Linked DNA regions of Homo sapiens: region 2 is linked to region 1. The links are contacts of gene promoters, found by promoter capture Hi-C in blood cells and fetal thymus (Javierre and others, 2016). All regions are on one chromosome and are shown on one strand. Each heading gives the region's core, a stretch centred on a gene start or on the middle of the fragment in contact. The rest is flanking DNA. Distances are from core to core; before and after follow the strand shown.

Region 1 (6,966 bases), core at 2,999-5,498:
ACAATTTTTAAATTGTTTTTATTTAACTGTTCTGTGCCTCAACTTCCACATCTGTAAAATGAAGATAGGGTTGTTGTGAGAGTTAAAAGAAAAAAAAAGGCCAGGCACGGTGGCTCATGCCTGTAATCCCAGCACTTTGGGAGGCCGAGGTGGGCGGATCACCTGAGGTCAGGAGTTTGAGACCAGCCTGGCCAACATGGTGAAAGCCCCTCTCCACTAAAAATACAAAAATTAGGCCGGGAGCAGTGGCTCACGCCTGTAATCCCAGCACTTTGGGTGGCCAAGGAGGGCAGATCACGAGGTCAGGAGATCGAGACCATCCTAACAAGGTAAAATCCTATCTCTACTAAAAACACAAAAAATTAGCCAGGCGTGGTGGCGGGTGCCTGTGGTCCCAGCTACTCGGGAGGCTGAGGCAGGAGAATGGTGTGAACCCAGGGGGCAGAGTTTGCAGTGAGCCGAGATAGTGCCACTGCCTGGGAGACAGAGCGAGACTCCGTCTCAAAAAATAAATAAATAAATAAATAAATAAATACAAAAATTAGCCAGGCGATATGGTGCACGCCTGTAATCCCAGCTACTCAGGAGGCTGAGGCACGAGAATCACTTGAACCCGGGAGACAGAGGTTGCAGTGAGCCAAGATTGCGACACTGCACTCCAGCCTGGGTGACAGAGTGAGACTCCATCTCAAAAAAAAAAAAGAAAAAGAAAAAAAGGGGCCAAGCGTGGTAGCTCACACCTGTAATCCCAGCACTCTGAGAGGCTGAGGCAGATGGATCAGGTGAGGTCAGGAGTTCGAGACCAGCCTGGCTAACATGGTGAAACCCCATCTCTACTAAAAATACAAAAATTAGCTGGGCATGGTGGCATATGCCTGTAATCCAGCTACTTGGGAGGCTGAGGTAGGAGAATGCTTGAATCCAGGAGGCAGAGGTTGCAGTGAGCCAAGATTGTGCCATTGCACTCCAGCCTGGGCAACAAGAGCAAAACTCCCTCTCAAAAAAAAAAAAAAACGGCAGGGGGCTGGGCACAGTGGCTCATGCCTTTGTAATCCCAGCACTTTGGGAGCGTGGGCTCACAGTAATCCCAGCACTTTGGGAGGCCTAGGTGGGCAGATCACTTGAGATCAGGAGTTCGAGACCAGCCTGGCCAACATAGTAAAACCCCATAGCTACTAAAAATACAAAAGTTAGCTGGGTGTGGTGGCGCGTGCCTGTAGTTCCAGCTACTCGGGAGGCTGAGGCAGGAGAATTGCTTTAACCTGGGAAGCGGAGGTTGCGGTGAGCTGACATCGTGCCACTGTACTCCAGCCTGGTGACACAGCGAGACTCCGTTTCAAAAAAAAAAGATATTTTGAGAGAGAACACATTCACGTAACTTTCAGTATACTGGCATAATTGTTCTATATTACTATTGTTATTAATCACATATGCATAATTTATAAGTTAAACCATATCAGAAATAGTATATATAGGAGGAAAAAAAAGCAGTTTCAGGCATCCATTGGGGCGGGGGGGTCTTAGAATGTATCCCCTAGGAATAAGGTGAGACTGCTGTACTATTTTCACCGTTTCAAGCTGTTTCTCTCGGTAGAAGGATGGATTTGAACATAAGAAAAGTTCAGGACTTCCCTTAAGGAAGCTCCAAGCAAGGCTTCCAAAGGAGGTTACTGTTCAACTGGGCAGAGAAGGCCACTAAGCAGCAGAGAGGACTGGCTAAAAGAGAAGGTAAATGAGACAGAGGGACTATTCCTCTCCTCACATCCTTGGTCTCCCCAACTTCCGTCTCTGCCATCTACTTGCCTAGTCGATCCATAGCCTTCTCAGTCTCTCTCTCCTGACTGGAGTGGTCAGCTGTAGCAAAGCCAGCCTGCAGGAAGAAGAAATGATTACCAAGGACTTGGGTATCTGGGGTATGCCCAGTATTCAGCTATTGCATCTCAACCCCACCCACTCTTCCATACTCCCCTTGGTGATGCAGGGCTGGGACTCTGCCACCCACATTTCTACTTTGCCCTGTTAAACTGAGCAAGGCTGGAGGGAGATGGGCCTTGTTCCTTCCTATTCATGTAGGCATCACCTCATGACACTTCACCGTGGCAGCAGGAATGCCTTCCTATAGTGGCCACAGAATCCAGTATACAGTTCTGCGAACTCTTGCAGAGCCAGTCTTATCACTGCACCTTCTCTTTAGAGGTCTGGGTCTCAGGACTCTCCTCCAAGCTCAGAGACCCCCTACCATCAGCTGGGGCAGTGCCTTCTCCTTAAAGGTTGGAATTTCAGCTCTGCAGAGCCTTTTCCCTAAGCTTTTAAATTTTAATCAACTTCATCTCTTTGTTCCTTCAGCCATAGGTTGGTAGCTGTTCCCTGCGGTTGCCACCCCCAGGTACACGTTTTACCTTTTCAGTTACTTAACAACTTTATAGCTAGTAAACAACTCTATCAAATTCTCTGTTTCCTCACCAACACACTGAGGTGGGGGAAGCTTTATAATTCCTCTGCAATGCTGAGCACTGAAGGCAGTATTTCTAATCTAACTGAAAATCTTCCCGCACAGCCAACCAAATGCTTCTCTGCTCCCATCACTCAGAAGTTCCTGAAACCCTATGACCTCCAAGACCTCTTTCTAATGAATCACGAAATGTTCCCTGCCTGCATAAAAGACCTGATTTTGATCCCAGCTCTGCCATCCATTCAGAGTGTGACCTTGAACACATCACTTCAATTACTGTGCCTGAGTTTTCTTCTCCAGAAATTAGGGGTGACTGTTCTGACCCTGCAGGGGACTTATGATTAGACACCATTTATGAAAACACCTGGCATGTGGCAAGAATGTAACATTTCTTGAATTTAAATTCATCTTTTCTGCTACATCTAAACTGTACTCGGCACCTGCTCCAATCAGCATTCATTATCTAGTCATGTCTGGGTTTAATAATTCAGTTCCACTCCCTGTAGTTAGTGACAACCTCTGGTCACTGCCGCCCAAGGAGAAGTCAGACCTCTCACCTAAACCACTGCCACGGCCTCCTAACCACCTTCCCATCCAGCCATCTGGCCCAGCCTTACAGAATTAATCACTACTCTGCTCAAAACCTTCAACAGCCCTCCACTGAGAGAGCACAAAATTAGCCATGGCATTCGCACGTCCCCTCTTCTCCCACTCCCATCAACCTGTTGAGCATAGTTCTCTGCATGCTCTGAGACCCAACTCCAGGCCATGTGCCCTGCACTTTCTCATCTCCACGCCTCTGCAGACACCACCAGCCTCTCACCTTGATCCTTTCCTGCTATGCCCTGACAAAATTAGTCCCATTCTATTCTGCACTCCAAAGTAATTTTCTTTGTAAGTGTCGCTGCATTTTTCATATCTTACTTTGGCTAAGTACCATCTTTGAGGCATCATTCATCCAGTCGGTATGTCTATCTCCTGTGCCAGGCACTATGCTAGGCTGTGCAAACAGCCCTAACAGAGGGTTCCTACCTTCAAGCCGCTCAGCACCTAGCCGGTACAGACTGTAAACAAGGACAGGTAAGAACTGTAATAACGGTCTGTAACGTTCTCGGGAAAACCAGGAGCTGTCTAGCTTACATGAAAACAAGTTTCTGGAAACCCTGCGTCAAACAGGGCCTTTCTGGTTTCAGTAAGGAGAAGGGGGAGCGCGCATGTGACATCTGGGGCTCAGGGTTAGCTGGCATCCCCACCAACGGACAGAGGTCCACAGGTCTGTAAAGTCAAGTCCCTCTCCTCGCCGCCCTCACCTGGCCCTCGCCCAGGCTCCTGGCAGCGGGCCCCGGCTCTCGGTCACCAGCGTCACCTCCCATTTACCAAATCCGCAGCGGCGCCCAGCGGGCGGACAGCCGTCTCTGCTGACCCAGAGCGCCCACCCACGCCCTCGGCTTTCCCCGCCCCGCAGCCCCGCGGCCCCGCGGCCTGGCCGTTTTCAGCTCGAGCGCGAGCCCAAACAGCGCTCCGTGTCGCGGGGCGGCCCGAGGCCGGCCAGAGGCGCTTCCCCGGCCCCGCGGCCCCCGCCCAGCCCGGCCCCGCGACTTCCCGCCCCAGGCTGCGGCTGGCTGTTGCTCCTGGCCCCCACGCGGCGCTCACCTCCGGGCTGGGGGGCGCCCCCCGCGCGCTAGGCAGCGGCGGGCCCCGAGACGGCTCCGCGGCCCCCTGCGCCTGGGCCCCGGCGGCCTGAAGGTCCATGCCCTGCGGCCCGCGGCTGGTCGCCCTGGACGCCGTGGGCCACGTGACGCGCCGGCCCGGCTGCCCGCCCGAGGATCCGCCGCAGAAGCGCCAATCAGCCTGGGGAGGGGGTGGGTACCGGCCAAGAGGGCGGGGCGCGGGGGTGTCACGAGCAAGCGGGGGCGGGGCGGCGCAGGGGGCGGGGCGCGCGGCCTCGCGGAGCCCGCCCCTCCCTCCCAGCGCGAAATCTGAAACAATCTCGGAGACGGATTTTGGAAACTCCTCTCGGTGCATATCCTAAGGCTGCACGACTAGCTGCGTGTGAAACGCCAAGCGTACCCTACTCGGCCACTCGGGGTGTGCTCCAGCTTCAAAACCCCGCGTGGGTAAGACACATGAGCAACCCAGTGACCTCCACCTTGAGCTAATGATCGTCTTTGAAGTTAATCCATTAGAAACCAAGATAGATGATTAAGACACAAACTGCAATATGCAGTGGACACAGAATACAGGCCACGACGCTTACTCATAATAATCCTGAACATTCGGGATTCCTGTATTTCCATGCTCAACGCCTGATACCGACAACCTAATTATTTCCCATTTTGCCTCGAAAGGTGGCTTCTGGGGATAGGCAGGGCCTGAGCTGGGAACAGCCCAACTGGAAAGACAGCCTTCCCTGCCTTCCCCACAGTGCCTAACCTCTAATAACAAACCAGCTCAAGGTGTGCTAATCACGTCAACATCAGGACATGAGACCCTCTTCCTTCATCCCCCTCAAAGACTGTGTTGTTTGTACAACACAAAAGGCATTTGAAAAAATTTAGCATAAAACTGACACACAATATTCGATATTATTTTTGTTCTATATGTAGATGTTCCTACACAGGAGTCAGTATCCCCAAGGCTAACTGCCTCTAGGTCAGCAATGTCCAATAGAACGTTCTTTAATGGTGGAAGTGGAAATGAAAGTTCTACTATCTGTACTGTCCAATATAGTAACCATATACCTACTGAGCACTTGAAATGTGGCCAATGTGAATAAATTGAATAATTCTAATAAATTTAAATTGCTACATGTGCCTTGGAGCTACTGTTTCTAACAGTGCAACTCTAGGTGTACTAGCTAGATGTGTTTTCATAACCTGCAATATTGAGAATCAGATACAGGGATGTGATGACCCCAGGTGACCACCCTTATAGCCTTGTGTTAAGGAGACTACCACTATCCTCTTTGCTCCCTAATCTACATATCTCTTTCGTAAAATTAAAGTGCCAAATAAGATTAAGAATGTTAAACATCCCAGGACTTAAGGGACAGGAAAAAGAGGAATTTTTTTCTTATTTTAAAACAAATGACAAGAAAACAGGGGCTGGCCGCGGTGGCTCACTCCTGTAATTCCAGCACTTTGGGAGGCCGAGGCAGGCAGATCACTTGAGGTCAGTTCAAGGCTATCCTGGCCAACATGGTGAAACCCCATCTCTACTAAAAATACAAAAATTAGCCAGGCGTGGTGGCACACACCCATAATCCCAGCTACTCGGGAGGCTGAGGCAGGAGAATCACTTGAGCCCGGGAGGTGGAGGGTGCAGTGAGCAGAGATTGCCCCACAGCACTCCAGCCTGGGCGACAGAGTGAGACTTGGTCTAAAAAAAAAAAAAACCAGAAAGAAAAAGAAAACAGTACAAAAGCTTAAAATAAAAATGTTCTAAAGTAGACTCTAATACTCATAGAAATTTAATATATAATAAAGGTAACATCACAAATCAGCAGAGAGAAACATAACTGCCCAAATAGTGTTGGCAAAATTAACTGCTTGGGGAAAAAGAGTTGTTCTCAGCACCAGGAAGAGCTTCCAAAGCATTTTAAAAACAGACATCACACATACACACACAAAATACCTCTGGGCATCAAAAATCGCCACAAAAGGTGCCTATAATCCCAGCTACTTGGGAGGCTTTGGCAGGGAGAACTGTTTGAACCTAGGAGGCAGAGGTTGCAGTAAGACCACACCACTGCACTCCAGCCTGGACCACAGAGCAAGACTCTGTCTCAAAAAAAAAAAATCACCACAAACAAGGCTGGGGGTAAAATTATTTGCAACAAATGAGAAACAAGATATTAATATTCTGAATATGTTTTTAAAAACTCTGGCCAGGCACAATGGCTCATGCCTATAATACCAGCACTTTGGGAGGTTGAGGTAGGAGGATTGTTTGAGCCCAACTGTTTAAGAGACCAGCCCTGGCAACATAGCAAGACCAGTCTCTACAAAAAAAAATTTAAATTAACCAGGCATGGTGGTGTGCACCTGCAGTCCCAGCTACTCAAGAGGCTGAGGTGGGAGGATCTCTTGAGCCCAGAAGTTAAGGCTGTAGTGAGCCATGATCACACCACTGCACTCTAGCCTAGGTGACAAAGCAAGAACTTGTCCAATTTAAAAAAAAAAATTAACTCATAAATTAGTAAGAAAAAAAATTTTTAAATAGTCTAAGGATGTAAAAAGATGAGAAACATAAAATACACTAACTTCACTAATATCAAAGTATGGTAAAACAATGACATATCACATTTCACCTATAAAATGGTAAAAATAAAAGATATAATTACACCAGTACAGGTAAGGGTACTGACACTTTCATGTATTGCTTGAAAGAAGGAGCAAACCAGCAATACATATCAGTATTCTCTAAAAGCAGTATCCTTTGATCCAGTAATTCCACTGTCGGATGTCAATCTCCTAAGGAAATGGCCAGGGATGTGAACAAAGATTGACAAGAAT
Region 2 (6,966 bases), core at 3,084-5,583, 380 kb before region 1:
AAAAAAGAGCCCCTGCAGCACCTGGAGGAAGACAGCACTGGAATCGGGAAGAGTTAGGTGGTTGCATTTGTCCAGGGAAAAGAAGGTGAGAAGGAGGCGGTCAGCTCGGCCAGGCTGCCAGGACTGCTGATGTAGGTGGAGGAAAGAGCCATCCAGGGCTATTCCATGGTCCTCACCTGAGCTCCTGCATGGAGGTTGGTGCGATTTGCTCAGCGGGCATGGAGGGAAACTTGACATTTGGGTGGTAAGCATGTTAATTTGAGCTGCCCACTGGATAGTCAGTTGAAGTCGTCTGCACACTGTGGTATGCATCCACATCCCCTTGAGGTCCAAGGCCACCTGCCAGAAGTGTTGGCTGCTGCAGACCGTCCCCAGGAGCCAAAGGGGCTGCCTTGCCCAAGATGACAGACCCATCCTGGGGCAGCCCTCATCTGAAGGCTGGTCCAGGTGGGGACACAATGATTTTGCCCCCTTGCCTCTTTCTGGGCAACTTTGAAGGACTATCTTGGCTCCAGATGCCCCGGGGATCAGCTGAGGCTCATTGCAGCTGCAATGCAATCCACTTCTCCCTCTGCCCATCCTGCATCCCTTGTGCCCTCACAGGCCAAGCCCTAAGACATTCCCCAGTCAACTTCCTCACAGGCAATTGGATGCATTTAGTTCGGAGCTCCAGGAAGAGGTCTAGGCTGGGTGGCAACAATGTGGGGTGGGGACATCAGCACTGGTGGAATTTAAAGTCTCAGGCTAGGTGAGAAGGGAAGAGGATTGAAGCACAGAGCATGCCAACCTTGAGAGCTGAGGAGGTTGGAGGGGTGGTGCCCTGGAACCAAGCTAAGAAAGGTTTAAAGGGACCAGGTGCGGTGGCTCACACCTGTAATCCCAGCACTTTGGGAGGCCGAGGAGGGTGGATCACTTAAGGTCAGGAGTTTGAGACCAGCCTGGCCAATATGATGAAACCCATCTCTACTGAAAATACACAAGTTAGCCAGGTGTGGTGGTGCATGCCTGTAGTTCCAGCTACTCGGGGCTGAGGCAGGAGATTCACTTGAACCTGGGAGACAGAGGCTTCAGTAAGCTGAGATTGCGCCACTGCACTCCAGCCTGGGGGACAGAGCTAGACTCCATCTCAAAAAAAAAAAAAAAAGAGAGAAAGTGTTTAAAGGAGAGATCCGGTGCCTGTAATCCCATCTACTTGGGAGGCTAAGGCAGGAGAATAGCTTGAACCCGGGAGGTGGAGGTTGCAGTGAGCCAAGATTGCACCACTGCACTCTAGCCTGGGCACGACAGAGCGAAACACTGTCTCAAAAAACAAAACAAAACAAAACAAAACAAAACAAAAAACAAAAAAAAAACAGAGATTCACCTCACCAGGTGCTATGAGGATTGTTAAGGTAAGATGAGGACCCGTGACACTCTAGTTAGTTCATTTCAACCGCTGTGGTGTTCAGGGAGGAACTTGAAGGAACGTTTAAAGCCAGGGGCATAATGTGGTGAGGAGAGGAACTCATAGAGAAGGAGAAATGGATGATTCAGAAGGGGAGGGCAGGAGCAAAACCTTGAAGGGGATGGGGTCCAGGGCCCACATGGAAGGGTCCATCTGTGAATAATGCTTTGTATCAAGAAGAAGGCAGAGTAGAGGCACCTGTGCAGGTTGGTGTGTAGAGCTGGTGGGGAGGTCACTGGGCATGGTCACTGGCTGTGAGTGAGTGGTGGGAAGCAGTGCTGGAGATGAGAAGACAAGAAGAGAGGAGAGTCAGCTTAACCTGCAAGTCTCCCAGCTGCAAAGGGCACTGGTGCGCTTCAAACCTGACTCTGGGCTTCATTCACTGGAAAAAGCACAAAGAAAGACATTCTAAGCTGTCAAGACGTGGTAGGTTCAGCAAATAATACTAGTTACAGTAAAAAGATGTGAGCTGTTGCTACGCTTAAGCATTCGTCGTGCATTCTTTCATTTAACAAGCCATCCCTCAAAACCCCTGTGACACAGATACAGTTGGTCCTTATTACTTGCACATTCTGTATTTGCAAATTTGCCTGCTTGCTGAAATTCATTTGTAACACCAAAATCAATACTCGCAGAGCCTTTGTGATCATTTGCAAACATTCTCACGGTGGTGAAGATGTGAGTTGCCCAACGTGCATGTTCCCAGCTGAGGTCAAACAAGGCGACAAGCGGCCTTCTTGTTTCAGCTCTCATACTGTAAACAAGTGTCCTCTTCACGGTCTAGTTAGTGCCACGTTTTCTGCATTTTTGTGTGGTTTTTTTTTTTTTTGGCGATTTTGCTATTTGAAATGGCCCCCAAAGGCTGTCTAGTGTTCCTAAATGCAAGAAGGCTGGGACGTGCCTTGTGGAGAAAATAACGACTGAGTGTTAGATAAGCTTTGCCCAGGCATGAGCTACAGTGAGTTCAATGTTAATGAATCAACAATATGTATTAAATATAGTGTCTTTAAACAGAGACATGCTTAAAACAAGGTTATGCATTGATCGTTTGATGAAAATGTTGTGATCAGAGGCTCACAGGAATTGAACCAGTATTTCCCCTAGGGGCAATGGTTCAGTATTCACGATTCTGTGTTTGTAGTGACTTCATAGAGCATAACTACTGCAAATAATGAGAATCGACTGAACTTTTTTTTTTTTTTTTTTTTTTTTTTTTTTGATACGGTGTCCTCCTCTGTCACCCAGGCTGGAGTGCAGTGGTGCAATCTTGGCTCACTGCAATGTCTGCCTCCTGGGTTCAAGTGATTCTCCTGCCTCAGCCTCCCAAGTAGCTGGGATTACAGGCACGTGCCATCACGCCCAGCTAATGTTTGTATTTTTAGTAGAGACGGGATTTCACCATGTTGGCCAGGCTGGTCTCAAACTCCTAACCTCAAGGGATCCACCCACCTCGGGCTCCCAAAGTGCTGGGATTATAGGTGTGAGCCACCGTGCCTGGCCTCGTGTGTACTATTAACTCTGTTGGTCACATAAGAAACCAAGGCTAAGAGACTAGACGAGCTACAGGTAGTAATAGCAGAGCTGGGGCTGAAACCTGGGCTGGTGGGGCACTAGGGGGCTTCACCCCATGAATGTGGCCTTGTGATCCAGTGGGGACCACAGGGGACCTGGCCTGGAAGAAAGGTTTCTTTTTTAGGGCACCCCATGAGCAGCCTGCCTCCCCACTGCACTGGCCTCTCCAGTTTCTACGTGAACACAGAAGCTCCTTCAGCCCTCCTGGGCTGCAGCCACAGAGCTGTTGCTGGGCCGTGGTTTTCCCCTAAGTGGGTGGAACAGTGGCTCCGTGTCCAGAGGCCGGGCACCTTTGGTTTTCCTTTGCCCAGCCCAGCCCTGGCAGGGGAGGCACAAAGGAGGCATCTGTGACTGAGCACGGAGGCCAGCCAGTCTCCCGACACCAGCCCATCCGGTCTGCTGTGGCCTCCTGTTTATTCAGGGGATAAACTTGGGCAGGCCCCAGGGAGCCGCCCTCTCCCCAGCCCCACCACCTTCTCCACAGGGCAGAGTCTGCAGCCCTTCTTCTGTCTTTTGTGGGGTAGCTTGCGTGTTGTGGTTTGGGATACTTCTTCATCCCAGCATCACTGAGATAATTTAGGAGACAATTGCGGGGGACTCTGCTTTCAGAGTGGAGTTACAAGCCCTTCAGTGTGTGTCCTTCCAACCCCAGAACAGACTCAGAGTCGTCATCGTCCACTGTCATCCCGCCTCTCAGGAGGCCGCTAAATCTGAGACTAATGGCTGCCACCTGGAGTGTTCCTCAGGCAGGGAGCAACCACACGACTGTGAGGAGGGGGCACTTACCTGGTGGGGGGCTCAGTGCTCCCCTGTGGGGCTGAGGAAGGAGCCTGGGCTTGGGGAGAAGCTGGGTGCTCCCCGCCCACCCTCCTTGACCCATCAGATATAGATGAGAAGCCACGGCTGGGAGGGTGCGAAGCTGACAGCAGAGCCCCAGGTCCCCAGACAAGCTGTGGGGAGAAGAGCAGCGCGGGCGTCAGAGGCGCCTGGACAGGCAGCCGGCAGGTCCACAGCAAGGCTGCACCTTGTTCTTCCTTGGTCTCTGGGTGGCCAGCACTAGGTCTGGCCTGCGGTTTCTGCTCAGTGATTCTTGTTTGAGTAAATGAATGACGGGGTGAATGAATGAATGGTCTTGGTTCTATGATGGTTACTTTGGGGAAGTTATTTTATTATACAAAACCGAGCCTCTCTTTTTTACATAGGATAACGGCTAGGTGCACAGTCTCTGGAGCCAGGCTGCCTGGGTTTGACTCCTGGCTCTCAACTTACTAGCTGTATGTCCTTGAGTAACCTCTCTGAGCCTCAGTTTCCCCATCTGTAAAATGGGGATAATACCTGCCTCGTAGGGTTGTCGGGAGGATTAAATGAGCTCATATCATGTGAAGCACTAGAACGGAGCTTGTATATATTAAGTGCTATGTGGCCATTTGCTGTTAATACTTTTTTTTTTTTTTTTTTGAGACAGAGTCTCTGTCACCCAGGCTGGAGTGCAGTGGCTAGATCTCGGCTCACTGCAACCTCCACCTCCTGGGTTCAAGCGATTCCCCTGCCTCAGCTTCCTGAGTAGCTGGGATTATAGGCGACCACCACCACACCTGGCTAATTTTTGTATTTTTAGTAGAGACGGGGTTTCACTATGTTGGCCAGGCTGGTCTCGAACTCTTGACCTCAAATGATTCACCCGCCTTGGTCTCCCAAAGTGCTGGGATTACAGGCATGAGCCACCGTGCCTGGCCAGCTGTAAATACCTTTAAGATGAACATAACGTCTGCCTTCCGCGCGTGTTGGGAGCCTGGTGCATTGTTTGCCCAGGTGTGCTCTTCTCAGAACACTGATCCCTTGTGTTGTTAAATGTTAAATAAGAAGGGTCCTGTCCAAGCCCAGTTGCCTTAAGGAAGCCTGGGGTTAAAAGCTAGGGAGGCTTCTCTCCTGCAGAGGTGCCTGTGACATCTTCAAGAGGGAGTGAAGAATTTCACCGGCTGATTTGACCACAGATCAATTTCTTGCTATCAGAGTGGGATGGGGTTTCCACAAAACACGTCTTTGAAGACAACAAATACTGCTTCCTTCCCTCCCTCCCTGGAGCCCTGGCCTCATACTGCTTAGCTTATCTGGTAGCAGCCAGGGAAATGGCAGGATGCATCTCCCTGGGCTTAGAACTGGGGCAGGAGGCAGCAGCCAAGTCAACAGCAGGTAGTGGCCAGTCCTCAGCTCTAAGCCAGCAGGTAGGACTGCAGAGGTGCATGTGGCAAATCATAGACACCTGATGTGGGCTGCCACTGACTGAGACACTGCTGAGCTGGACAGCAGACACCTGCAACCCAAGGATGATGAAGAGGAACTTGAGGCCTTTAATTGCTCATGGTCTTCAATCATCCTTACCAATTAGTTTCTGCTGCTTCCCAGGCAATTCCGGTTGCTGTAAGTAAGCCAGTGATGCAACAAGAGAGGCAGAAGGGAGTCCTGAACGTGGGCCAGATCTGGGTACAAATCTTGTCTCTGCCACCACTTAATCCTCTTGAGCCTCAGTTTCCTTATTTGTTTCATGAGTGCAGTAACATCTACTCTACAAGATTGTTGGATTAAATTAAGAAATGAAGTGGCTGGCACATAGTACATAGCTGTTATCAACAATAGGCTGCAGGGAAATGTTCTCTCCTTGGTTTCAGGGCCCTTGTCCAAGGTTCCCATTAGGTAGAGGAATTGTTTCTTCAGAGTTGAGATCTGATGTGTCTGGGAAGAGGGCAGCCTGACTTGAGAAGGTCTCTCACCTTTCAAATGCCCATCTCAGGAACTTCAGAAAAGGCTTCCGCTAATTCAAAAATCAAGTCCTCAGCTTTCCATTGTCTGTGGGTGAGGGATTCTCAGTCCCATTCAGGGCCCTAACCATTCCCCAGGTGATTACTGTGTGCCAGACATGTTAGGAGCTTAAGTCCAAAGACACCAGGGGCATGGACCCTGTCCTCAGGAATTGCAGAATGGTAGGGGACCTGACAGGAGGCCAATCCTGACAATTCAGTGTGTTCCTCTTAGTAACACAGCTTGTGATTGAGGCATAGACATCATGAAGCCAAGGAATAATTTATTATCACTGGAGAAGACAGGGAAGGCATCACCTGGGAAATCATACCTGGGTGGAGTTTTGAAGGATGAATAGGAGTTTGCCTGGTGGACAGAGGAGGCCAAAAGTTTGGTACTAAAAACAGCATACCTACTCTACTCCCAACCACCTCCCTTTTCTAGGATTGGTGTGGGTCCATCTGCCGTTAGCAAGCTTTGTGACTATAGGTAAGTCATTTCTTCTCTCTCGGCCTGTTTCCCATTGGTGAAATGGGATCCCTTCCAGCTTTAATGCATTGTGATTTCATGTTTATATAGGCCTAGATAATTGTTTTAAAGTCCTCATATTTGCAAAACACGGGGCAAAAGTCTTTGACTTTTTCTCTTCTAACGCATCTCCCAGTCTTACAAAGTTGGTTGTACTCTCTCCATTTGACTGAGGAGGAAACTGAGGCTCGGTGAAGTTACTTGCCTTTAGCCAATATGTGGCAGATCCAGGCCTCAAATCCAGGTCTTCTGGCCCTGAGTTCCACTGTTTCTCCACTGCTCCACACGGCCTCTCACCCCACAAGCCCTCGGCGGCTGCACATAAATGATCCTTGACAGATTACTGCCTCACTCAGGCCCCTGTCAGATGTTACTGCTGACAGTTGGGGAGGAGGAGGAGCGAGAACATTGTGTGCCAGGATGCCAGGCCTCGGCCCTGAAGGAGGAGCTTATGAGAAAGAGGCAAGCAGGGAGGCAGCAGGTAGGACATTGAGCATGGTCAAGAAAGGCTGTTTTGGCCAGAGAGTGGATAAATGATAAAGTCTGGAGTAGCAGGCAAGTGCACAGCCACCCTTTCCTGAAGCAAAAATTGGTGCCTAAATCCATAGTGAAAATAGTCCCCC

What was found. Contacts are between HindIII fragments. The CHiCAGO score rates a contact against its expected background, and 5 or more counts as called.
Region 2: a contact is called between a fragment that was not itself captured here and the fragment with the promoter of COPRS in region 1, in 1 of 17 cell types (neutrophils). The highest score is 6.7, in neutrophils.

What each region holds. Positions count from the first base shown.
Region 1 is chr17:31,854,996-31,861,961 of GRCh38, forward strand. It overlaps COPRS (coordinator of PRMT5 and differentiation stimulator), which reads right to left and starts at 4,249. Exons shown (of 4, transcript NM_018405.4): 1 at 4,106-4,249; 2 at 1,804-1,870. The coding sequence starts at 4,204. It overlaps UTP6 (UTP6 small subunit processome component), which reads right to left. Exons shown (of 19, transcript NM_018428.3): 19 at 5,909-6,966. RefSeq lists an enhancer at 3,236-3,910 and a silencer at 3,970-4,399. The HindIII fragment of the contact is 3,390 bases long and covers 2,484-5,873 here.
Region 2 is chr17:31,473,541-31,480,506 of GRCh38, forward strand. All of the region lies in intron 3 of RAB11FIP4 (RAB11 family interacting protein 4), which reads left to right. Among named protein-coding and RNA genes, the nearest start is that of MIR4724, 58 kb to the right of the region's middle. RefSeq lists an enhancer at 2,787-3,603. The HindIII fragment of the contact is 3,910 bases long and covers 2,379-6,288 here.